2 separate regions of the Homo sapiens genome follow, and region 2 is linked to region 1. Evidence: promoter capture Hi-C in 16 types of primary human blood cells and fetal thymus (Javierre and others, 2016). All regions are on one chromosome and are shown on one strand. Each heading gives the region's core, a stretch centred on a gene start or on the middle of the fragment in contact. The rest is flanking DNA. Distances are from core to core; before and after follow the strand shown. Region 1 holds the start of MKRN3 (makorin ring finger protein 3). Region 2 overlaps LINC02346 (long intergenic non-protein coding RNA 2346).

What was found. Contacts are between HindIII fragments. The CHiCAGO score rates a contact against its expected background, and 5 or more counts as called.
Region 2: a contact is called between a fragment that was not itself captured here and the fragment with the promoter of MKRN3 in region 1, in 1 of 17 cell types (M0 macrophages). The highest score is 5.4, in M0 macrophages.

Annotation. Positions count from the first base shown.
Region 1 is chr15:23,563,182-23,567,503 of GRCh38, reverse strand. It overlaps MKRN3 (makorin ring finger protein 3), which reads right to left and starts at 1,830. Exons shown (of 1, transcript NM_005664.4): 1 at 1-1,830. The coding sequence starts at 1,721. The coding sequence ends at 198. The HindIII fragment of the contact is 4,614 bases long and covers 1-2,289 here.
Region 2 is chr15:25,970,811-25,975,132 of GRCh38, reverse strand. The region is part of intron 1 of LINC02346 (long intergenic non-protein coding RNA 2346); the gene reads right to left. Among named protein-coding and RNA genes, the nearest start is that of LINC02346, 71 kb to the right of the region's middle. The HindIII fragment of the contact is 4,712 bases long and covers 1-4,322 here.

The DNA.
Region 1 (4,322 bases), core at 581-3,080:
AAACAGTAACTTTAAGGACTTATTTTTTAACACAGATAATCACCATAATCCTAGGGGGAAAGATATGCAGAATAGACAAGAAAACAGAAGCACTGCCTCAACAGCCCCTGAAAGCAGTAAGAGTGTCAACACAGGGAAAACAGGCAATAGCAGACGACAGAACCTCAGCAGACTAGACCACATGCCACAGCACGATGCTACAGAATCAAATTGAAATATTCTTCCAGCTCATAATGAAGCAAGTCCCACTGGTCCTCAGAGAAGGGTAACTCATCTCTCAGTGAAAGAAACCGCTTAAACAACAGACTGGCCAGCCGAAGCACGACAAGCTCCTTCTTAATGCTTTTATAGAGCATGTTGCCCTCTCCCATTCGCACAGGCTCCACAAGTTGATGCCAGTATGCGCTGAATGACCCACCACCTGGCCCAGGAGGCTCATCTCCCCAGCCCTCAGGGTATTCATGCTTGTAAAAGCATGTGTCTCCAAATGGGCAGTTACCCCTGCCTTCCGCAAAATACCTGCAGGCCTTGTTGCTCATTGCCTCCTTGTATTGCTGAATAAGTTTCTGCTTCTCTTCCTCCTCCTCCACCCAGAACTCACTGGGAATGACCAATTCAGAGGTGACCCTGCACTGTGGGCAAGACTTGACGATCCTGTTCTCAAACTGTCTGGCACTTCTCCACCTGCGGATACACCTAATACAGAAGGAATGGTTGCAATTGGAAAGAATGCCAAAGCGGCGGTCATTGGGGTTGGCCTTCTCATAGACAACCTCCATGCAGATGCCACACACCTTGTCCATACCACGCTGCACAGCAAACGAGAGTTCCATATCTTTCTCGTGTGCTTCAATGCAGGCCCTCATATGTTCTTCCCTCTGGGCAGCATCCATGGGGTGCAAGGTCTGCAGCCCACACATGTCGCATATGTCTCCATGGAGGTACATACAGCTCTCCCCACGAAAGCAAACTCCCCTGGAAGCATAATAGCAAAACCGCAACCCACTGCCCACAGCCATCTGCTTCCTCTCAGTCTCTGAGCTCTGTAGAGGAGCCTCGGGGGCAGATGCAACCCAGCGGCCCCGGTAGGGCTGCCCTGGAACAAACTCAATGGCATCCGCCCAGCTTTCTACACCTGCTCCTCCAGCAGCTCCACGGTCTGCATTGTCTCTCTCGGCTTCAAAGAAACCCCTTTCAGCAGCCGAGCCAATCACAGGCAAGGAAAGGGAGGATGCAGCCGGGGGGGCTTCCGCCACTTCCTGAGTCGGGGGCTCGATGTGCGCAGCCGTGCTAGGGCCTCCACCTGCAGAGGCCCCAGGCGGCGAAACGCCACCCTCAGTGGCCATCTTCCGACCAGAAAGGTCGTGCGAATAGCGACAGTTCTCCCCCTCCTTGCACTGCCCATGTATATAATACCTGCAGATGATCTGCTTTGTCCAAATGCCGCTGCTTCGGCTTGGCAACGGACTGGGCCAGGCTCCTCCTCCTGAGGCTGGGGCAGGCCTCAGGCCTCCTCTGCGGAGGTGGGCAGGGACTGGAGCTACAGGGAAGGGGGCCCAGCCCCTTGCCGCATGTGGCAGGGCTGAATCTGGAGCAGCAGATTCCCCGGAGGGCTCACAGACGGGAAGGTCCGGCCCAGACACACCCTCCCTTGCTGCCTCAGCACCTGCCTGGGCCCCGGCTGCCTCGTGGGCTTCTGAGGGAGCTGCAGGCTCTTCCATGGCTGCTTTGGCACCCCGAAATGGTGCCAGAACCTCTCCGGTATTTTTTCTTTATGGGCTTGAGGCCCGGAATGGCGGCCGCGCTCGGAGGCTTCTCTGGGGGAAGTGTGCATCTCTTTTTCCTTCCCCCCTGCTTTTGGGTCCCTCTGACTGTGTGTTCCTACCTACTTCCGGGCACAGGCAGCATGGCGGACACTTCCTGTGGGGGCAACGTACGTGCTCTGCCTGGTTTTTACCGCAATTTTCCAATCTGACATATTTTTTCGTTCACACAGGCGGGGACCAACCCAGCCCCTTTTGTCTGCCTTCTGCCTCTGCTTCGCTGTGTTCCGGCAGTCCCTAAGTCCCTTCTCACACGATTTCCTCAGGAGAATGAGGTTTTACTTTAATCTCTTCTGGTTTCGGTCATGCACGCTTCGTTGTATTTTCGTATCTGTCTGCCTTAAAAAAAATATAATCCTATAGATTCTGAAACATTTCATCCATGAATTATATAAATTCTTTTTTTATTCACTCCATCTTATGTCTGTGGTTTTTTTCTTTTAATGCCCGATCGCGGCAGGAAGCTTTTTTCAATTCGTTCGGTTGACAAGGCGCCGTTTCTTTTGGTCTTTGTTTTCTGGGATTTCTGAGGGCTTACACTGGATACGCTTTTCACCAGCAAGGCATTAGCAGAGAGCACTTCTGATCCGAGGCTAAGTTAGCACCTTTCAGATGTCTTTCTTTATTGTGATTACTATGCTCATTTTCCCACTGTGTTAGAAGCGCCAGACTTCAACCAGTCCTGATGCTGGCCTAATAAGACACTGTCCCCTGCATGACCCAGGCTTTTATTTTCTCTACTGGTTTAATTCATGGCAGCCCTTTGTTTCCCTTCCTTTCTTTCAACCCCATCTGTGCTGTGTTGTGGCAGGACAGCCTTTCATAACATATCCTGTGCCATATTATCCACAAAGGAATGGTCTTTAATTTCCATGTATGAGCGTTTTGTCATTTTTGCAGATAAATGTAGTAGATTAATCATTTTTTTGTATTCCTACTTTGCTGAGAGTACGTATCATGACTGCATACTGAATTCTGTTATGTAGTTTTATACATTTTTTGAGACAATTTTGTTTTTCCCTTTATTCTCTTAATGTGATTATTTGCAGCTATGAGTTTCAAATATTTAACTAACCAATTTGTTTCTAATAAGAAGCCCTTCTGTCATGATATATCATTTTATATATTATTGGATTTTTTTTCTATAAGTTTCTTTGAGGAAATTTTGTTGCCTAAATCTGTAAAGTGGAAACATATCTGAATATTTATAATCACCCAAGTCAACAAATTAAATTATAATTAAGTAGGTAAAAGCAATGAAAGCAGAATGAAGCAAATAATAAGGGCAAGAAAAGCAATGAAGAAAAACAAATATTAAATAAGGGAAATAAATTAAGTAAAATCCCTTAAACTGCTTATTGAAGCCAGATAATTTCTGGTGAAATTTATCAAGGAAAAATGAAGAAGGCTCTAATACCCAAGATCAGTAATTTCAAATATGTTATCACTACATTAATAACAGACATTAAAAATCATTAGAGAATATCAGGAACAAAGTTAGGAGATAAAACTTGAAAAGTTACATGAAATAGTCATATTGGTGGAAACATCTATTAGTAAAAATGACAGGAGCAGAAATACATGTGAATATGGATCTGTTAAATTACATCTGTAATTTAGATAATTATCTAAATAAAGGTCTCTAAAACTTTCTCTCTGAAATAAATCTAAAGGCAAAAAAAATCTGTATTTATTATTGCAAGTCCTAGCTAGTGTAATAGCAAAGAAATAAAAGATGTTATAACTGGAAAGAAATTATTGATGGAATGCAACAGAAAATTGAGAATAATTTACAGATAAGCTATTAGATTTAATAGGTACATTTAGCAAGGACACTGGACAGGAGTCCAATATATGAAAATCATTTTTATTTCTCTATCATCAATAACATTTGAAGTAAACATTTAAAATTAATAACATTCATAACAACATTAAAAGTTAGCTAACCTAGGAATTAAACTAATTAAGGTTATACAATAAAATTAAAAACATTTTAGCTTCAGAAGACCTAAATAAATTGTGGGATACTTTATATATAGTCTTTATAGTCGGTCAGTAGAAGGCTCAATGTTTTTAAAAGGTAGTCTTTTCCTAATTTGATAATTATTTGAAAATGGTGCTGATTATTCATCGTGAATGTAGGAAATGTTGGATTTATCTTTCTCCTTTTCATAGTTACCAAGTTTTATATTTTGCATGCAAGCTGTCCCAAAGTCTGCCTCACTTGAACTTTCTGAAACAAACTTTCTCTTTATCAGGATTTGTTTGTCAGCCCCAGTGATTTTTACAAGAAAAAGACTTGCAGCACAGCTCTCAGGCTTCTACGCCAAGCTCTCTACAAATTCACAAACATAAGAATCCTGAATATAAAATTATTACTGGCTTAATTGTGATATTTTCCTAGCACTGCATCTATTATTTGCTTAATTGTGATATTTTCCCAGCACTGTATCTAAATCATATTTGACCCTCTCTTGATGCACCAGCACTGTCCAGAGG
Region 2 (4,322 bases), core at 945-3,444, 2.4 Mb before region 1:
TTAAGGGTGGTTGTATTAGTCATGTTCTCCAGAGACACAACCAATAGGATGGATGGATGGATGGATGGATAGATAGATAAATAGATAGATATGGATATGTGGATGGATTGATAGATGATTGATAGATGATAGATAGATAGATGTGGATGGATGACTAGAGACAGACGGATGGATGGACACATATGAATGGATGGATGAATGAATAGACACAAATAGATAGAAATGGTTGAACAGATGGATAGACAAATAGAGATGGATAGATGGATAAATAGATAATGAGGAATTAGTTCATGTGATTATAGGGCTGAGAAGCCCCACCATCTGCCATCTGCAAACTGGAGACTCAGTAGAGCTAGTATCTAATTTAGCGTCTGAAGGCCTGAGAACCAGGGAAGCCAATGGTGTAACCCCCAGTTCAAGGACAGGAAAAGATGAGATGAAATCTTGCAGTTTAAGCAGTGACGCAGAAAAAAAAGAGGCAAATGTCTCCTCCCTCCCTTTGTTCTACCCAGGTTGTCACCAGGGTGGATGCAGTGCCGCATGTTGGAGACGGTGATCCACTTTACTGAGTCCCCCAGTGTGAATGCTGACTTCATCTCGAAACACCTCACAGACACATCCAGAAACAAGGTTTAATCTGGGCACCCATAGTTCAGTCAAGGCAACACATAAAATTAACCATCACAGCAGTGTCTCTTTTCTATTTTTTGCTTATCTCCACATGGCATTTTGACATAGAAGACACTCAAAAAATACTGACAGACTGAACTCACAGAGGCCTGCGTTCTGCTGTGAAATGGTGTTGCAAGTCCTCTCATGCATCCCAGCAAAGTGAGTTTATACAACAGATGCTCAGGAGGGGCTTGTTGACTGAACAAAGAGAGAGGAGGGAGAGAAGCAGCAGCTCCCCGTTCTAGGCCTGTTGGAGTTCAAGCCAAAGCTGAGAGCACTGCCAAAAACAGTCCTGAGAAGAGAACATCCTGGGTGAAAACCCAGACCTCCAGTCCTCCACACAAACATGTGCCCCACCCTTTGCTATTACTTTATTTTTATAATGGAAGGATAGGGTCTCACTATTTTGCCCAGGCTGGTCTTGAAGTTCTGGCCTTAAGCAATTCTTCCTCAACCCCCTAACCTGCTGGGATTACGAACATGAGCCACACCACGCAGCCGGGTATAGGTTCTTCTCTTTAAGGCAGATAAGTGATTTCTCCCTGCTCCAAAGGTCCTGCTCTTCTTTATCCAAGGGTGAACGATGAACAGCACAAGGCTAGAGACTTACTCCCACCTCACTCCTGGCTTCCCTGTCCCCAGTGTGGCCAGGAAAGACCAAGACCCCTTCTTCATCACAGCTTCAGAAACAACTGGCAAAGTTGCTTTATTCTCCTTAATTTCAACAGCTTTGCTATTTTCGTGGAAGGAGTTCATTCCTTCCAGTGGGTTCTCGCTCCCAACGACTTCAAGAATGAAATCACAGACCTTCTCAGTAAGTGTTACAGCTCTTAAAGACACTGTCTACAGTCTGCTCTTTCACGACGTTCAAATGTCACTGGAGCTTCTTCCCATTGCGTTCATGGTCTCGCTGACTTCAGGAGTGAAGCCACAGACCCTCACAGTGAGTATTACAGCTCTTAAAGGTGGCACATACACAGTTGTTTTTTGCTCCTGGTGGATTCGTGGACTCGCTGACTTCAACAACGATCCTGCACCTCCTCACGGTGAGTATCACTGCTCACAAAAGCAGCACATACCAAAACAGCAATCTACCAAAATTTACTGTGAAGTGCAAAAGAACAGAGCTTCCACAGCGCTGAATGGGACCAATCTGCATGCCGCTGCAGGCTCCGGTGGCCAGCTTTTATTCCCTTATTTGGCCCTGCCCACATCCTGCTGATTGGTCCATTTTACAGCGTGCTGATTGGTCCATTTTACAGAGTGCTAATTGGTGCATTTACAATCCTTTAGCTAGACACAAAAGTTCTCCAAGTCCCCACCCTATCCAGAAGCGCAGCTGGCTTCACCTCTCATTTTGAGGTGAGCTTTTTGACTTGGAGGGACACACACGTTCACCATTCAAGTGTGTCCCCCATAGGCAAGGTACTTTCTCTTCAAGGTAGTCACAATTCCCTCCCCATTTTGAAGAAGAGAAAATAGTGGGATGATTTTCTTAAGAAATCCTTATACTTCTATGCAGTAGGATTCTCTGATGGATGCCAAAGAACCTGAAAGACCCTCTGTGAAATAAGGAGAGTCTCCTCTGGCCCACAGCTGAGTGCTTGTCCTCATCACAGCCCCCAGAGCCAGACTCCCCTGGCCCCTGCTCTCCCACTCGGAGCAACTTAATGCATGGCTCCTTTGACTGCCAGCTTCACGGCTGATAAAGAAGACACCTCTCCACCTGCAGCAAACGCAGAGCAGCACAGCTCGGCTCGCTGGTGAAGTCTCACGCTTCCTGTTAGAGGAGCTTGTTCCATGCCCTGAACGTCTTTCACTGGGTGCTACATGGGACTCGTGCTCATGTTCCACCCTCCTTGGCCTTTTAAGCCATTGAGCATGTAATGTTCTACTCTTGTAATAGTACATTTGGCAGGAGGCATAAACAAAATCACAGACCGTAAGCTACAAAAGAAAAAACAAAAATACTGCTTGAGCTATATCAGATGCTGATGGTGGCCTGCACATTTAGATATCCATGAATCTCAAATGTAGCCTTCTGAATCCTCACCATAAATTTCATCCCTGCTCAGGGAATCTGCTGTAATTTACATCCTATATTATACAGCCCAGGCAAAAGGGGAACTGTGCCTTTGTGTAAGCCCTCAGCACTAACAAAAGGCTTTACTGTGAAAGCCATGCTCCCATTTTTCTTTCAGATTTACATCAACAGTTCTGTCCTAATATTAAGTGGGCTATTTTACACCTTCACAGAGTAAATAGTTGGGCTGGCAACATATACACATTTTTTTCATTTCAGCCTTTATAAGTAAGCGATGTTCACTCAAAAACATATATCTTTGTAGGAAGAGGAAGACAAAGGACTCTGGTTTATTTCTTGGAAAGGAATTCTGACCTTTGCCATCAAGTCTGGCCTGAGAAAGAGAGAGGTATTATCTGGGTCACGAAAGGTTGCATTCTGTTCCTCCTTTCTTCCCCACTACCTCTAGTTGCAGAAAAATGCTTGAAATATCTCTAAAAACATGGCATCATTTATTCTACAATTACATGTTAGTTTAGAAGTGAATATCCTTAAGATAGGTTGCACGTCAGCTGACACTAAAACATTCATGATTAGATTTTTGTCAAAAAGATGGAGAAATGGGATAAACATATTTGCATCTAACCAAATGTACATCCTCCTGGATATTTTAAATCTTCTTTAAATTATTTGCAACACCTAATACAATCTAAATGCTGCGTAAATTGTTGTTATACTGTATTGCTTAGGGAATTATAATAAGAAAAAAGTTTGTACATATTCAGTACAGATACAACCATCCATTTTTTCCTCGAATATTTTTGATTTGGGGTTGGTTGAATCCACAGGGAGGAACCCACAGATATGGAGGGCTGACGGTAGATATATAATGTTTACATGGTTTCCAAGGCACTTACATGGACATTATATAATTTTCTCTTGGGGATTTATACAATCAGCAATACTTAGTTTAAATAGTCTAAATAGCTCATTTGTTTATTTCAAAATATCCCTTTTATGGCCACTTTCCGTGGATGAGTGAGCCCCCTCATTCACCATGCCTCTCTTCTTGTGCTCTAATTCCTGATAATGAGGTCATAAGCTATTCCCTAAGCCAACTGGGTGGGGACACAGGCGAGAAGAATGTCTGAGAGGCTATGCCTTCTGAACATTCCGAGTAAGAGATGGATGACGGTCATGCTATGAATAGCCACGCGTAAATCTCAACAATTTTTAGTCCATTTATTGCCCTGCATGAGACAGCTGAGTAAAATTCTCATAGCATCATAGGTAATTAGCAGTCTATGGCTTCTCCCAGAAAATCTCTTCTATGTTACTGGCCTTCATCCAAAAAGTGCATCCTGTGTGGCTTCCTTCCCCTCCCAACACCAAATTAAAGGAAGGTAGAAGCCAGCCTCATCTCCCCGCTGGCCAGTCAACCCTTGCGGTCCCAACATCAAAGGAAAGCCATTGCGGATGAAATGGTACCATGTTGAGCAAAGCGGGAGCAGGGCCATCGGCTCCAGGGTCTTGTCTAATCCAACATTTTAAGATTAAGATATCAGTTTCTTAAATTACCATGTATCCAATGGGTTGTACAGAGCATCCATTACCACTGACCAAATGA